3 separate regions of the Homo sapiens genome follow, and all the other regions are linked to region 2. Evidence: promoter capture Hi-C in 16 types of primary human blood cells and fetal thymus (Javierre and others, 2016). All regions are on one chromosome and are shown on one strand. Each heading gives the region's core, a stretch centred on a gene start or on the middle of the fragment in contact. The rest is flanking DNA. Distances are from core to core; before and after follow the strand shown.

Region 1 (2,700 bases), core at 138-2,637, 6.1 Mb after region 2:
TCCTTATAAATTACCTAGTCTCAGGTATTGTGTTATAGCAACATAAAATTGACTAATTCAGTATTCCATTTTATGGATATACCACATTTTGTTTGTTTATTGCTCATCTGGTGGTGGACATTTGGGTTGTTTCTACCTATTGGCTATTGGGAATAAAGCTGCTGTGAACATTACTGTACAAGTTTTTGTTTGAACACTTGTTTTGTATCTTTTGGTGTATACCTAGGCCTGGAATTGCCAGACCATATGGTAATTCTATGTTTAATTCATTGAGGAACCACTAAAGTGTTTTCCCTAGTGACTGCACCATTTTACATTCCCACCAGCAATGTATAAGAATTCAGTTTTCCGTATCCTCACTAACACCTGTTATTTTCTGTTCTGTAATTATTACTATACTAGTGGATATCAAATGGTATCTTATTTTGGTATTGATTTGCCTTTCCCTAATTACTAATGACATTGAGCTTTTCATGTGCTTCTTGGCCATTTGTCTTTATTCTTTGGGAAAAGGAGTTCTTTGTAATAGAACCTTGTCAGATACATGATTTACAGATACTTTGTCCCATTCTGTGGGTTTTCTTTGCACTATCTTGGTATGTAAAACTTTCATATGCAAACATTTTTAATTTTGGTGAAGTCTAATTTATTCTTTTGTTGCTCATGCTTTTGGCATCGTTATTTAAGAAACCACTGCTAAATCCAAGGTCATGAAGGTTTGTCCCTCTGTTTTCTTCTAAGAGTTTTACAGTTTTAGCTTTTACATTTAATATCCTTGATCCATCTCGAGTTAGTTATTGTCTATGGTATATGGCAAGGGTCCATCTTCATTCTTTTATATGTGACTATCTAGTTGTTCTGACATCATTTGTCAGAACAAATGTCAGAAAAGAACAATTGACTGTTCTTTTCCTCCATGAATGGTTTGGGCAATTTTTTTGAAAATTAAATGACCAAAAATGTTGGGGTTTATTCCTGCACTCTCAATTATATTTCATTGATCTATCTGTCCGTGTGCTAGTACCTCACTGTTTTGATTACTGAAGCTTTGTAGTGAGTTTTGAAATCCAGAAGTGTGAGTCCTCCAACTTTGTTGTTCTTTTTCAAGGTTGTTTCAGCTATTTAGGGTTCCTTATATTTCCATTTGAATTTTAGGGTTGGCTTTTTCATTTCTGCAAAAAAAGCTATTGAAACTTTGGGAATATAATGAATCTATAGATCACTTTGGGGAATATTGCCATCTTAACAATATTAAGTCCTTCAGTCCATGAACATGTGATTTCTTTTCATTTAGTTCATATTAATTTCTTTCAGCAACTTTTTGTTTTCAGTATACAGTTGTTCCTTGGTTACGTTTACTCCTGAGTATTTTATTCTTTTTGATGCTATTGGAAATGAAGTTTTCTAAATTTCCTTTTCATATTTTTCAGCTCCAATATGTAGAAAAACAGTGGATTTTTTTGGTGTGTTCTGATCTATTCTCCAACTTTGCTGAATTTATTAGCTCTAGCCAGTTTTTTGTGCCATTTTTAGAATTTTCTATATATAAGATTATGTCTTCTGCAGATAGAAATAATTTTACTTCTTCTTTTTCAATCTGGATGCCTTTTTATTTTTTTTTCCCATGCCTCATTGCTCTGGCTAGAATTTCCAGTACTATGTTGAATAGAAGTCAGGAAAGTGGATAAACATTCTTGTCTTGTTCCTGATCTTAGGGGGAAAGCTTTCATTCTTTCACCATTGAGTATGATATTGGCTGTAGATTTTTCATATATGCCCTTTATTATGTTAAGGGACTTTTCTTCTATTCCTAATTTATCAAGTACTTTTATCATGAAAAGATGTTGGGTTTTGTCAGATGCTTTTTTCTGCATCGATTGAGATAATCATGTACTTTTTTTCTTCATTCCATTAATGTGGTGTATTGTATTGAAATGCCCATGTGGCCATGTTGCGTGGTCCTTTTAATATACTCCTGTATTCTGTTTGCTAGTATTTTGAGGATTTTCACATCGACATTCATAAAGGGTATTGGTCTAAAGGTTTTCCTGTAGTGTCTTTGTCTTGCTTTGGTATCAGGGTAATGGTGGCCTCATGGAATGAATTAGGAAGTGTTTCCTCTACTGTTATATCTTTTGGAAGAGTTTGAGGGGTATTTATGTTAATTTGTCTTTAAATGCTTGGTAGAATTCACCAGTGAAGCCATCTGGTACTGGACTTGTTGAAAGGTTTATGATTACTGATTCAATCACCTTACTTCTAATTCTGTTCAGATTTTCTGTGTCTTTTGAGTCAGTTTTGGTAGTTTGTGTGTTTCTAGGAATTATTCTTTTTCATGTAGGTTATCCAATTTGTTGGTGTTCATATTATTCTCTTGTAATTTTTTAATCATCAAAAGAGCAGCAGTAATGTCCCACTTTCATTTCTGATTTTAGTAATTTGAGTCTCTTCTTTTCTTTTTTAGTCAGTCTAACTAAAAGTTTTCCAAAAATGTTTGTTGATCTTTTCAAAGAACTAACCTTTGGTTTCATTTTCTCTATTCTTTTTCTAGTCTCTGTTGCTGCTTTTTATTATTTCCTTCTGCTAGCTTGGGGTTTTGTTTGCTCTTCTTTTTCTAGCCCCTTAAGGTGTAAAATTAGGTTATTAATTCAAAATCTTTTATTTATTTTTTTAAATAGAGCGTCAGTATAGAGTGTCTTA
Region 2 (2,725 bases), core at 86-2,585:
ACCTCCTTGAATACGCACGTAGTTTACTAAGTCATGAGTATTTTCACACTTTATTCCCAAATAAATATATAAGAATCATAGAATGATAGAATTGAAAAGGATAAAATCACACAGTTGTTTCTAACTCCCACCCCTTAGAATGCGGCAAATGAAAAAAATTTTTTTTTTTGAGACAGGGTCTCTGTCTCACAGGCTGGAGTGTAGGGATCTCCGCTCCCTACAGCCTCAACCTCCCCAGCTCAAGCAATCCTCCCATGTCAGCCTCCCGAGTAGCTGGGACTACAGGCCTGCTGCCACCATGCCCAGCTAATTTTTTGTACTTTTTGTAGAGACGGGGTTTCGCTATCTTGCCCAGGCTGGTCTCTAACCTCAGGTTCAGCCTGATCCTCACCTCCAGGCTCAGGTGATCCGACCCCCTAGGCCTCCCAAGGTGCTGCGATGACAGGCATGAGCCACCGCGCCCGCCTATAATCAATTTTCAATATTCTAAAAAAGCCTACCAGAAATTGTATATTTTCTGGTGGTATTAAATGCTAGGTTTCCTTGTTTTGTGCTAGAATTATATCAGATCCACAATAAACCTAGGTTCCGACTGAGCTGGGTCTGATTGAGCAAAATCTGTTTTCCCATTATTGTTATGTTCAATTTGGCAAACAGCTTTTCAAAATATAGGAGTGAAGTCGTGGTCGAACTAATAAAATTGGTAACACTTGCTACAATGTTTGCAATTCGCAGAAAACTTCACTGACTTCATCTTAACTTATTCCTCACAAAGCTGTGGAATCACCATCAGTAGAGCAGGAGTCGTTGGCTCAATGCAGTGCTGTCTGCAACCGCTCGGAGCTTCTAGGTTCTTTCCGTGGGTCTCCAGCTTATGAGCACCTACATTCCGCGATTCGGAAGCACCTGCCTACCCCTCAGAAGAGAGAGACAGCTCCTTCTTCCCGTTCCGGAATGTGGTGCGTTCGCACGCATGCGTGACACGGCTACTCCGCGCTTGCGCCGATATTCTCCGCTTGGGGCGGATACCCTGGGTGACCCGTGAGCGTCCGCGCCCGGCGCGCGCCTGCGCAGTCGCTTTTCGAGAGTTTCCGCCCGCTACGTTCCCGTCTTTCAAACCACCCCACCACCTATACCATTCATTCCAGTCTCCTCAATTCTTTCACTGTATTAAGACGGCCTGCCCTCTGGCACGTTTTCTGGAACGAAAGCGGCTTGGGACAGACAGACTCCCTTCGCCAGGGAGCCCCGACCCCGAGGGCGCGCCCTGAGCGTCTGAGCGCAGCCCCGCTGCGTCCCCAGTTGTATCCCCCGCCACGCCCGCCTCTTCCGCCGCTCGCGCGCGCGCGCACGGCCGGCCACGGCGCGCCGGGGTTGGCTGCTACAGGGACCGCGGTGGCGGCGGCGGCCTCGACAGCGGTAGTGCCTTCTACTCCGCTTTTTTAGTTTCCTCCGCCCCCTCCCGTGGGACGCTGTTGTGTGGCTGCCTTAAAAAAAAACGCAACTTTATTGTTCCTCAGCCCCACCTCCGGCTCGGCGGGCGTCCTCAGGATGCACTGAGGCTGAGGGGAGGGGAGGCGGCGGAGGGTCGAGGTCGCGGTCCCTCTCCTCCGAGCGCCCGGCTGGAGGGGAGGGAGTCACGATGTCTGGTAGCCGCCAGGCCGGGTCGGGCTCCGCTGGGACAAGCCCCGGGTCCTCGGCGGCCTCCTCGGTGACTTCCGCCTCCTCGTCTTTATCCTCTTCCCCGTCGCCGCCTTCCGTGGCGGTTTCGGCGGCAGCGCTGGTGTCCGGCGGGGTGGCCCAGGCCGCCGGCTCGGGCGGCCTCGGGGGCCCGGTGCGGCCTGTGTTGGTGGCGCCCGCCGTATCGGGTAGCGGCGGCGGGGCGGTGTCCACGGGCCTGTCCCGGCACAGCTGCGCGGCCAGGCCCAGCGCCGGCGTAGGAGGCAGCAGCTCCAGCCTAGGCAGCGGCAGCAGGAAGCGACCTCTCCTCGCCCCCCTCTGCAACGGGCTCATCAACTCCTACGAGGACAAAAGCAACGACTTCGTATGGTGGGTTTGAAGAGCACTCCCTCCTTGTCCCTAAATTATGAGTTTCTGCCGCTTAGGCTTGGGGGCGGGGGGTCTGGTGTGGGGGTGGCTTGTTGGAGAGCTTGGGATACTGGTGCTGTGGTGGTGTCTGCAGAGGGAATCGAGCGTTTGCAGGCATTCGAGCTCCTGGTTGGTGGGGTGAAGGAATGTTGGAGTAGCGAGGCAGGGTGGGGATAATAAAGAGGTAGGTAAGTGTTGCTGAGGAGGAAGTGAAGGGAGTTTAACGAATGACGAGGGAAGAGGTGGAAGGTCAAATAAATGGTTTTGGATAACAAAGTTGGCAGAGAGGTTGAGTCTTAAAATTTTTGCCTCTCTGATGAATTGAACACTCAGTCAATCAGGAGTCCTTGTTGAGATGAATGAAATTTGCAAATGGAGAGGACTAAGCTTCCTCGGATGCAGAGGGGTGGAGTTGGTCAAAATTTATTTGAAGTATGGTAGATGATGCTGTAAACATAAGCATGGATGTCTTATAAAGACATGCTTTTTATAATAATGTAAGTACCTATCGTATGTATGTGTAAATATCTTCTTCCATTTCAAAGGATGGGCCACTTAGGAATCGGCTGTTGAGACGACTGTAGTCAAAGTCTGTTAACAGATTTTTCACTTCTCCACCAAGTGTCTTGAAAAGAGA
Region 3 (2,984 bases), core at 412-2,911, 6.3 Mb after region 2:
TAAAGTTCAAAGGAGGTAAGATCATAAGGACCAGTATTTTATTTATGTCCTTTCAAAACATTGCTCTTACTTCATGGGCCTATCTTCCATTTGCATGACATGGTCAGGTACCATACCTGTAGCCAAAAAACATCATAAAACTCAGTACAATGGCTTTTATCATCATATTTTATTTTTCTGGTGAGAAAGTTAGGGAGACATTTTTATGTAGCTAATATAAGATATAAGGAGCTATATAAGGAGTTAATCTCGTCTAGCAAAATGCAGTTAAGTATTGACATCATTCTGGAGGCTTCAGCTTCCTCCTTAGGGAAAAGATCCTTGTAGTTCATGCCTTATAATTGTTGCTCCAGGCAGAGGGTGCCAGTGCATTAGCATGCTGTCTGACACACTCAGGAGATCCTGGCCTCTTATCAGAAAAAATGATTTTACTGTGGAATGTAAGTCAATAAAATAACCCCAAGTGTCTTTTTGAATTAGGGAAAATGAAGGCATTAGTTGATGCTTCTTTGGATAGCTAGCACTTTGGAAATTTAGGAATTCAGATATATCATCTTCTAAAATGGAAAATGTAATTGTATTAGTAAATTAATTCTCCAGTGTTTATTCTGGTAGGCATGCTATTTTCAAGTTGAACTTGATATCTTGATTTTGTTAGAATTATAATCTCTATTACCTTGAGTCCCTTAGTTATCAACAGGTATGGAACATTGATGTCTGTTTCATAGGACTCTAAATTGTTTTTATTTTTTTAAAATGATTATAAAGGATTATATTAGTAATGGAATTTTGGTCTTCACAACAGTAATTTATTTGATGTTGTATTTTTGATCAAGCATGAAATTGTTATAAGATGGTTCCTAAAGAAAAAGATGGGTAACAGTTCTCTCGAGATGCGTGGTGGTAAAAAGTATATAGCTGGCTGTTTTCTTGCTAGGTAATTTTGCTTTTTGGTAGAACCACATTTTTGACTCTTTTTTTACATCATCTAGGTATTGTTAAGAATTTTTTATTGTGATTTTACAAAAGACAAAATGCCTTACTTCGCTTTCTTGTTCTTACAGTTAATGTCTAACATGCCTCCTGTTATTTTCATCTAATAAGATTGTGCATTTTTTTTAATAAACTATTATCGGCGAGGTACTAGAGACTTATCTTTCTTAGTATTTTTTTCTTTATAAGATTTTTTTAAAATTGTGTTACACTTTATGGTGCACGTACCAAGAAAATTGAATAACCTAGATCGAGTTTTTAAAGGAAAAAACAGCAAGACCACTCTCCATTTTTGAGGACTTCTGTGCTGAAGGAATTGCGAAGCTTGAGAGGGAAGACTTATTCCCCCTTAATATTCATAGATACCCTTTTAAGCCATGTCTGAGTCTTTGCACATAGTTCATCTTTGTCTCTTGTTAAGCCATTCTGTGGCTTTGAAAACCTCATATATGAATTTGGGAAATTTGAAATTGCAACAAAGTGATAACTTTAGATTCTCAGAATGTTTCTCATAATCTTAAAAAACTAGGTCATAGCACTTGAGAAATGTATGGCATTCGATGTGCTAGATTTTAGGAATTTGATGTCCTAGGTATCTGAAATACTAAAACAATATATTTAGCTTGCCTCACTTTCTCTAGAGTTTGGGTTGTTGGTCACACCTTTGGTAGTTTTAACGATTATTTCAAGCAGATATATAGTGTTTTCTGTTACTGGATAACAATATACACTTTCTTCACTGTTACAAGTAAAAAACAACAATCCTAGTATACACCAAGATGAAATGCAGGTATAAGCTCTGGCCACAAAATAATGTGAGAAATACTTAGTTCTATCTGACCATCTCATTTTACATTGAATTCATCAGCTATAATTAACAGTATAATTTGCTAACTGATGATGATGACTCATATATGTAAGCCTATAAACAGTGATAAATTCTAAGCCCGAATTTGGTTGCTGTAGTTTGCTGTAATCTAAGTGTTTAGTTAGGGCTTTGTGGTAAGCTTATTAAAGCTTATAAAAATGATTCTTGAGTGTCTTTATGCCAGGAATCACATTGGACTCTAAGAGTGGTATGTAGATGCTATATAAGTGCTCTATTTAGTATTGTTGGAGTCATTATGCTCTTCCCCATAATGAATTTGGGCTGTTGTGGAAGGGTTAGTCAATGTTATTTAAGAATGCACATTGTGTGGGCATAACAAGAAATGGAAGAGATGATGGCTATGCCCAAAAGAGCTTGCATTCTAATTGGAGAAAGCTGTTCTCCTCTCTCATACTGACTTTTTTTTTTGAGATGTAGTCTCACTCTGTTTCCCAGGCTAGAGTGCAGTGGTTCGATCTTGGCTCACTGCAACCTCTGCCTCCCGGGTTGAAGTGATTCTCCTGCCTCAGCATCCCACGTAGCTGGGATTACAGGCACGCGCCGACACACCCAGCTCATTTTTGAATTTTTAGTAGAGGTGGGGTTTCACCATGTTGGCCAGGATAGCCTCTACCTCTCGACCTCGTGATCCGCCTTCCTCAGCCTCTCAAAGTGCTGGGATTACAGGCATGAGCCACCGTACCTGGCCCATGGTTGACTTTTTAAGAAATTATTTTTTGCCCTTCATAATCAGAATCCAGTGCTCTTACGTGGCTTCTGGGCACTATCCACTCAGAAGAACTTCAGAAGTATCCCCCATGCCTCAGGTATGATGGACCCACCAGATGGAATGGCCAGCTACTTGCTCCCCACCACACCTTGCAGACTTCACGCTCTCCTTTTTCCTTGGATGTTAATAACCATCCAACCTGCCATTCTAAACTAATTATCTGCCAAAATCTCTAGTCTGAGCTCCAGATCTATATTTTCACTTACCTATTGAACATTTCCACCTAAAAGTTTTATCAGTACCTCAAATGCAAGCTCTACAGAATGGAATTTTTATTCCTTTCTCTTTCTGCATTTTATTGTTAGTTTATGATCTAACCTTCAGATAGTGGAC

Evidence for each region. The method cuts DNA at HindIII sites, captures the fragments that hold promoters and counts their contacts. A CHiCAGO score of 5 or more calls a contact.
Region 1: a fragment that was not itself captured here is called in contact with the fragment with the promoter of COP1 in region 2 in 1 of 17 cell types (non-activated CD4 T cells); the score reaches 7.1 in non-activated CD4 T cells.
Region 3: a contact is called between a fragment that was not itself captured here and the fragment with the promoter of COP1 in region 2, in 1 of 17 cell types (naive B cells). The highest score is 6.0, in naive B cells.

What each region holds. Positions count from the first base shown.
Region 1 is chr1:170,068,756-170,071,455 of GRCh38, reverse strand. The region is part of intron 1 of KIFAP3 (kinesin associated protein 3); the gene reads left to right. Among named protein-coding and RNA genes, the nearest start is that of KIFAP3, 4.6 kb to the left of the region's middle. The HindIII fragment of the contact is 677 bases long and covers 1,049-1,725 here.
Region 2 is chr1:176,205,896-176,208,620 of GRCh38, reverse strand. It overlaps COP1 (COP1 E3 ubiquitin ligase), which reads left to right and starts at 1,335. Exons shown (of 20, transcript NM_022457.7): 1 at 1,335-2,049. The coding sequence starts at 1,643. COP1-DT (COP1 divergent transcript) reads right to left here and starts at 956. Exons shown (of 5, transcript NR_185981.1): 1 at 750-956. RefSeq lists an enhancer at 728-797 and silencers at 1,298-1,507, 1,538-1,897. The HindIII fragment of the contact is 7,879 bases long and covers 1-2,477 here.
Region 3 is chr1:169,885,617-169,888,600 of GRCh38, reverse strand. All of the region lies in intron 2 of SCYL3 (SCY1 like pseudokinase 3), which reads left to right. Among named protein-coding and RNA genes, the nearest start is that of SCYL3, 6.8 kb to the left of the region's middle. The HindIII fragment of the contact is 683 bases long and covers 1,320-2,002 here.